Regions from separate parts of the Homo sapiens genome. Here region 2 is linked to region 1. The links are contacts of gene promoters, found by promoter capture Hi-C in human tissues and cell types (Jung and others, 2019). All regions are on one chromosome and are shown on one strand. Each heading gives the region's core, a stretch centred on a gene start or on the middle of the fragment in contact. The rest is flanking DNA. Distances are from core to core; before and after follow the strand shown.

What was found. Contacts are between HindIII fragments. The study calls those that stand out against the background at their distance.
Region 2: a contact is called between a fragment that was not itself captured here and the fragment with the promoter of COPG1 in region 1, in 2 of the 25 tissues and cell types used here (bladder and mesendoderm cells).

Annotation. Positions count from the first base shown.
Region 1 is chr3:129,247,935-129,252,004 of GRCh38, reverse strand. COPG1 (coat protein complex I subunit gamma 1) reads right to left here and starts at 2,399. Exons shown (of 24, transcript NM_016128.4): 1 at 2,259-2,399; 2 at 1,271-1,323. The coding sequence starts at 2,295. The HindIII fragment of the contact is 12,995 bases long and covers 1-4,070 here.
Region 2 is chr3:128,920,568-128,924,637 of GRCh38, reverse strand. All of the region lies in intron 12 of CFAP92 (cilia and flagella associated protein 92 (putative)), which reads left to right. Among named protein-coding and RNA genes, the nearest start is that of ACAD9, 43 kb to the right of the region's middle. The HindIII fragment of the contact is 6,238 bases long and covers 1-4,070 here.

The sequences.
Region 1 (4,070 bases), core at 1,150-3,649:
ACAACAATAAAGAAAGAAGCGGCTGGACGCAGTAGCTCACACCTGTAATCCTAGCACTTTGGGAGGCCGAGGCGGGTGGATCACCTGAGGTCAGTTCGAGACCAGCCTGGCCAACATGGTGAAACCCCGTCTGTACTAAAAATACAAAACTTAGCCAGGCATGGTGGTGGGCACCTGTAATCTCAGCTACTCGGGAGGCCGAGGCAGGAGAATTGCTGGAACCCAGGAGGCGGAGGTTGCAGCAAGCCAAGATCATGCCATTGCACTCCACCCCAGGCTGACACCAGCAAGTCTCCATCTCAAAAAAAAAAAGAGAAGTGGCCGGGCGCGGTGGCTCACGCTTATAATCCCAGCACTTTGGGAGGCCGAGGCGGGAGGATCAAGAGGTCAGGATTCACACCATTCTCCTGCCTGGCCAACATCGTGAAACCTCATCTCTACTAAAAATATAAAAATCAGCCAGGCATAGTGGCGTGCGCCTGTAGTCCCGGCTACTTGGGAGGCTGAGACAGAAAAATTGCTTGAACCCAGGAGGCAGAGGTTGCAGTTGAGCCGAGATCGTGCCACTGCACTCCAGCCTGAGCAACAGAGTGAGACGCCTTCTAAAAAAAAATACATATATATATATATATAAAAAATATATATAATAAAAATAAACAAGTCATGCAAAATCTCTACCTGCATAATGGCCACAGTCTAGCTTAGGTGATAGTTTTAAACCAGTTTCCTTAGCTTTGGAATTAACTTTAAATAGAGAAATTTTTTAAATGTTTAAATAGAGAGGCCAGGCGCGGTGGCTCAAGCCTGTAATCCCAGCACTTTGGGAGGCCGAGGCGGGTGGATCACGAGGTCAGGAGATCAAGACCGTCCTGGCTAACGCGGTGAAACCCCGTCTCTACTAAAAATACAAAAAATTAGCCGGGTGTGGTGGCGGGCGTCTGTAGTCCCAGCTACTTGGGAGGCTGAGGCAGGAGAATGGCGTGAACCTGGAAGGCGGAGCTTGCAGTGAGCCGAGATCACGCCACTGCACTCCAGCCTGAGCGACAGAGCAAGACTCTGTCTCAGAAAAAAAAAAAAAAAAAAAAAAAAAAAGAAGTAAGCATAACTAACTCTCTCCAGAAACAAAGTTTTCCTGTCTTCCAGAAAACTTCCAGGCACAAGTTTTCTCCCGTGTTGCTCTTTAAAACAACACTTTGAATGTGTTGGTATTTCAGTTGCATTGGTGGTGAATATTTATGATGGAAGCTAGAGGGGAGCAAATGTCACTTGCCTCCTGGAGTACCGCACTCTTCTCAAGGTGCTGGAATGGGTTGGAGCCTCCACCTACGGTCAAGGACAATGGAGAAGGTAGGTTGTGACTCTGAACTTCAAAACTCTCCCAGACATAGGTAAAGGGAAGATGTCCCTTCCTAGGAAATCTAGTAAAGTTCAAACTCCTCAGGAATGGCAATCAAGCCTCTACAATCTGTCTAGGGATCCTACTAGTCTCCTGCAAGCAGGTGGGCTCCACTCTACCCCAAACCACTCACAATCTCCCAGCAGCCCTGGTACAGTCCTGTGCTTCTCATGGTGCCATGTCTTGTGTTCATTTATATAACTTGTAATTAACTAAGTCCCTATGTGCCAGGGACCACCATCTCGTTGTAACTAGTTCCTTCATAGCAGATGACACATTTGCAAATAATTACACGTGTGATTATCTGGTTGATGTCTGCCTCCTCCATCGTGGGTGCAACCATTCTAATATTCCTAGCTCAGGCACTGAGTGTCCCACTTGCTCTGTTGCAGTATCCAGGACACCGTACAGTACCTGGCATACAGTAACTGCTCAATATACTTTGCTGAATAAATGAATGATGGGGTCAGAGTTCCCAGTCACAGGACGCTGGCTCCGCAGGTTACACCCCAGTTTGGCCAGCACCAACGTAGCCCCAGCGAATCCCAAGAGGTTGGACGAAGAAAGTAACAAGAGAACATTCGGCATGGTCCCCTCCTTTGACAGATGGGTAAATTGAGGCCTGGGGGGGGGGGTGTTTGTCGCGCCCAAGGTCACCCAGAAAATTGCAGTCCGAGCTTACAAGAGTGAGACAGCCGCGCATGCTCGGGCTCTCCGAGGCCTGCCACTGACTAGCTGTGGACCCTGGCACAAGCCCCTGCCCCTCACTGGGCCTCAGCCTCCGGGTCAGGACAGAGAACCAGAAGGAAAGCTCGGCGGGTGGGGGTCCGGCCTCCCTCAGACCCAGGCCTGGCCCCCTCACCTGACTCCTCATCCTTCTTGTCGAATTTCTTCAACATAGTGGAGTCGGTGGGGCGCAATGCAGCAACGCAATGCTCGACGGGCGCGGCACGGAGTAGCGGTGCCACAGTGGTTCTACAGGGACCACTTCCGGGCCCCGACTGGCCACGTCGCCCAGCGCTCTGCGCAGGCGCATTCCGCGCTCTGCGCCTGCGCTCTTTCCGGTAGCCACAGCCTCGTCTAATGTTAACCTTAGCTCCGCCGGAGCGGGAGTGGGGAAAGCCAGACGGAGGGGCAAGGGCTAGGTGCAGGGGGGTACTGACTAGCATCCCAACTCTGCTCCCTACGCTTCTTTCCGTATACCAAGGGAGGAGGAGGAGCCCCTGCCTCGTTGCGTTGTGGCGTGAGTCTTTGTGGCTTTCGGGTGTGAGGTTGGTGGCACACACTGGCCCGCAGTAAACACCCAATTGATGTGACCGGTCTATGACTGTTATTGCCACCTTCCGAAGGAGCCTTGCCAGCCACTCACTCCTCGCTTTCAGATTCTTTCCCCTGCCTGATTTCCTCCTCAGCTCGAATCGCCATCTAACACTTTATTTTTACTTTCTGGCTTTTATTTGTTTATTTATTTCTCGTTCTGCTGCCCAGGCTGTGGTGCAGTTGTGCGATCCTGGCTCACTGCAGCCTACAGTTCCTGGGCTCAAGCGATCCTCCCACCTCAGCCTCCCGAGTAGAGCTGGGCGCACCACCCCCGACTAATTTTTTAATTTTTGTAGAGACGAGGTCTCACTATGATGTTGCCCAGTCTGGTCTTGAACTCGTGGCCTCAAGCGATCCTCCTTTCTCGACCTTCCAAAGTGCTGGGATTACAGCGGTGAGCCACTGCACCCGGCCACTTTCTTGCTCTTTTGTTTTTTTTTTTGTTATTTGCTTGTTTGTTTGTCTTTTATTCACTGCAGTGGATAATGTTGGCACATAGTAGTTGCTCAGTGAGTTCTCGTTGAATGAATGCGTGCAATTGCATTTTTAATTTATATCTGCCGGGCCCTATCTCGTCTGCTCCTGATGCAAATTGCCTTGTACATTATCAACCTTAAGAGATCTAACTAAACAGCATAGAACTTCTACGTTATTTTGTAAATACTTTGGATATTTATGGAGTGCCAACTAGATGCGCTGCCTACGCGGGGAGGTGGGGGGAAGGGCGTGGGAAGGAACGGAAAGGGGAAAATGACACATCACCCAGGGTTTATCTTCCTGGGGACCTATGCAGGACACCCTGAGGCTAAGGTAAGCACAGTGCATGCCAGTGAGCCAGATTGCATTGGCAATGGCAAAGTCGTGATGGCCAAGCGCTGCGACACGGCCCCAGCTTGCCTGGGGAGGGGAAGCCCGCAGGCCTGTGGGCAGGAGAAGGAGTGGGCTGTGGAGAGGAGAGGCAGGAGGCTGAGGCAGAGGCCCCAGGTGAAAAGGGTGACCGCAAAGCTGGAGGAAGGGAGATGTCAGAGGGGCCAGCCCTTAGGGTCTGGCTTTGCAGAGGCTAGGGCCAAGGACAACAGATCTTGTGACATGCAAAATTGTCAAGAGTCAGAAAGATGTTCAAAATGTCTGATCGGTAACCCCACCCCTAATCAGGAGGAAATTGTTCAAAAGAAGAAAATGAGGCCGGGCGCAGTGTCTCAAGCCTGTAATCCCAGCACTTTGGAAGGCTGAGGCAGGTGGATCACCTGAGGTCAGGAGTTTGAGAGCAGCCTGACCAACATGGTGAAACCCCATCTCTACTAAATACAAAAAAAAAAAAAATTAGCCTGGCGTGGTGGTGCATACCTGTAAT
Region 2 (4,070 bases), core at 948-3,447, 330 kb after region 1:
CCATCTGTGCTAAAAAAAATACAAAATGAGCCGGACGTGGTGGTACATGACTGTAATCCCAGCTACTTGGGAGGCTGAGGCAGGAGAATCACATGAACCCAGGGGATGGAGGTTGCAGTGAGCCAAGATCGCGCCATTGCACTCCAGCCTGGGCAACAAGAGCGAAACTCTGTCTCAAAAAAAAAAAAAAAAAAAAAAAAAAAAAGATACAATCGTTCTATGAGCCTGGGAGTGCTAGAAGGAAGGAGCCAGCAAGTCTAGACACATTCCAGAGGCCGCAAGGGGTTTTATGCCCTGAGCCCTGGATTCCATCCAAGCCATGAGGGGTTTTGTGCCCTGGGCTTAGATTGTGGTGCAGCAGGGCAGCCTTCCACCCTTTGGCACAGAGCTTGGTGTTCCAAAGGCCATGAGGGGTTTTGGACCCTGGACCCCAGACATGTTCCAAGACTCTTTTACATTATATCAGACATGCAAGTCCTGCCTCAGCTTTTTTCCCAACACTCAGCTTTTCCCCAACATGCCCCCTTTTCTTTTTTGTAAAACCGCCACAGCTATCATAGCTTGTTCTCGACGGCAGCTGTCTCTCCCGAGGTGGCTTCCGCATCTGCAGACTAAAAGGAGACAGCACAAACACATAATTATTAGAACAAAATCTGCCAAGTATAGAGCTTCCAATGGCCTTAATCCATTTAAGAGGATTGATTGTGGACAACCCATTGGCTGTCTTGTTCAAAATATCAGTTCCAGGGAGCAGGGCTAAGTGAGCCTGAGAGGCTTCAAAAACCTTCTCTTTTAGTTTTACAATATCAAGGGTGAGATTTTCATCTTTGCCCTCCAGATGGCATTTAAGAGTAACATTTCCTATTGCTAGCATAAAAGGTGGCCGAACACAACTTTGAATCCAAAAGGTCTTTCTGTTTTTAAATTAATTGAGCAAGGCAATTGCAGGCTGTTCAGCCCTTAATTGCCAGTTGGTGATCCAGCTTCATTTGTCTTAGCCCTTATTCAAAATGTAGTCGCTCTGGTTTGAATGCTTCTTACATATTTCCCCCTTCCCTTTTACAAAAGGACCTTTAATCCTAAGGGCTGCAGAAGGATGAAGGTCCATCTTCTGCAACTTCTTCATGCTGAACAGGGGCGATGATATTCCTGCCTATTAGGGTCTCTTGTATTCAGGGTAGAGAGGAGCTCAGTCAGAAAGCATTGGTCCATTAAGCATCTGTTGTGCCCCTGAGTTCCTGCAAAAGGTAAAACCCTGGCGCTGCAGCAGTTTCTCAGCTTCCTGTGTGGTTTTCTTGATCTGCCCCCATGTTATGGGGGTTGATGTCAGCGTGACTCCAGTCGGTCCTCATTCCATCTTCGCATTCAGATTCAACTGGCCCATGGCTCGTACTGGGGGAACCCCCTCCATGGTTGGGTCCCTCCAGTCTCCTGTTCCATGGTCGTACACATCTTGAGGGCACCCACACGGCTTGTTCATCTCCTGCAAAAACACAAGCATACCCTCAACCCCACGTTAGTAAATCTAGCGAAACAGAAGCAAAAACTTTTGTGGCTGTAGCTGGGAGGCATACCATTGGTGAAGCATTTGTTCTACAAGCTGTAACTCAGCTTCTGCCTCTTTGGTTAATTACCATGGGGTAAAACTTTCCACTGATAATGAGAAGCAGGCCCCTTCTAACAGAAGGCACAGAGAGCAAATCGAAGCTTATCCTTCTTGTGCAACAGTATAGCAAAAAAGCAATCCTTAAACCTTAAATTTGCACCATACAGGTGGGTCCACTAGATGCTGTGGCTCATGATAGATCTTCAGATGTTTGGTGGGCACTCCATTGTTGCAATAAGTCTCTACCTCATAAATTGATAGGAATAGGTGTAATAATAGGTTGAATTGTTCCTTCCTGGCCATCTGGCCCGTGACATGGTAAAATCAAGGAACTTTGAAAAACTTCTGAAGCAGGCCCTATGCCAGTGATACCCATGGAAGTCTTTTGTTTGGGCCAGTGTTGGGGCCATTGATTTAAAGCAATAATAGAGACATCAGCTTCAGTATTTACTAGTCCTTCAAAATCCTTTCCCTGAATAGTTACTGTACAAATAGGTCTTCTGTCAGACACTAGATTAACCCAATATACAGCCTTTCCTGCTGGATTACTACCAAAGCCTCCTGTTCTTTTCACTGTGCTGCTTCCTAGTTTTGTGTAAGGTAACAGCAATAACTAAGCAATTCTTTCTCCTGGGGAAGAAGACCACTGAGTCGAGGAACTAATAACTAATTGAATTTTTTTTTTTTTTGAGATGGAGCCTTGCTCTATTGCCCAGGCTGGAGTGCAGTGGCACGATCTTGACTCACTGCAAGCTCCACCTCCTGGGTTCACTCCATTCTCCTGCCTCAGCCTCCCTGAGAGCTGGGACTACAGGTGCCCGCCACCATGCCCAGCTAATTTTTTTTTTGTATTTTTAGTAGAGACGGGGTTTCACCGTGTTAGCCAGAATGGTCTCGATCTCCTGACCTCGTGATCTGCCCACCTCAGCCTCCCAAAGTGCTAGGATTACAGGCATGAGCCACCGCGCCCAGCAAACTAATTGAATTTCTCCGGTATAATCAGAGTCAATTATTCCCGTATGCACTGACACCTCTTAAATTTAAACTAGACCTTCCAAGTAACAGACCAACTGTTCCTGAGGGTAAGGGTTCCCTAACACCCGTGGGGACCTTCTTTGGTGGCTCCCCAGGAAGGAGATGGGAATTGTGCTGCAAAGGTCTATAGCAGCACTGCCTACTATGGTGGGAGACAATTGTTGTATGTTTGTAAGGGCACTGGCTGTGCCGGATATGCCTTGGTTTGTTGAGGGGCCTGAGGCAGGCCCCTCTTCCCATTTCCCGAAAGAGGTTGTCCATCTTTGCTAAATTTAGAATGACACTGATTTGCCCAGTGATTGCCTTTCTTACACTGGGGGCATACACTGGGACTTTTCTGTTGATTGATGGTAGTTTTTGCCTTTTGATTTCCTTTTCTACATTCCTTTTTTCTGTGTCCAAATTGCCCACAATTGAAACAATGGCCCAAGAAATGGGGCATATTCTTTCCTACTTTCAATCCAGCCATAGCCTGAGCTAAAAGATTAGCCTTATGTAAGTTACCTCCAATGCCATCGCAAGCCTTAATACATTCAGCTAACTGAACCTTCCCTGTCAGGGGTCTAATAGCAGTTTGACACTGCATTAGCATTATTGTATGTAAGAAGCTGTATTAAAACATCCTGAGCAGAATGTTTGCTTTCACTTTGTGCCATTGTTACCCTGGTCCTTCCGAGTGCTCAGCTTTCCTGCTGAGCTTCTTTCAGTCGTCCTCGGGTGTCCTCTGATGATGCATCCTCTTTCACACACTCTAGTGTTCCTTCACTGGGGTGTTCGTTGCCTCATATTGGGCGCCAGGAATGTTGGGGTGATCAGACCCAACTCCAGGCTGTGGGGACTATGAAGTCCGGCAGAGTCAAACAGATGAGACAAGAGTGCATAAAGTGGGACCAGGGGGCCAACACTAGTATGGAGGCTGTGAAGGCCCCGAGCTCTGGAAGCCCACACTATTTATTGGTGATCAAAGAAGCAGGTGGTGAGGATGTGGGGGTTGAAAGAAAGCAGTGTATCAAGTGCATGATCTACAGCTGTGATGGTTTAGAATTTTCTTTGAAGCATATGGAACATGTTCTGCTACTTGAGATAATGGGAAACGTATTCTTCTAGTTTAAGACACAATCGATCTATGAGCCTTGGAGTGCTAGAAGCAAGGAGCCAACAAGTCGAGACACATTCCAGAGGCCACGAGGGGTTTTATGCGCTGTTCCCTGGATTCCGTCCAAGCCACGCCCTTGTGGCTTGTGCCCTGGGCTTAGATTGTAGTGCGGCAGGGCAGCCTTCCACCCTTTGGAACAGAGCTTGGTGTTCCAAAGGCCACAAGGGGTTTTAGACCCTGGACGCCGGACATGTTCCAAGACTCTTTTACGTTACGTCAGACATGCAAGCCCTGCCTCAGCCTTTTTCCCAACACTCAGCTTTTCCCCAACAC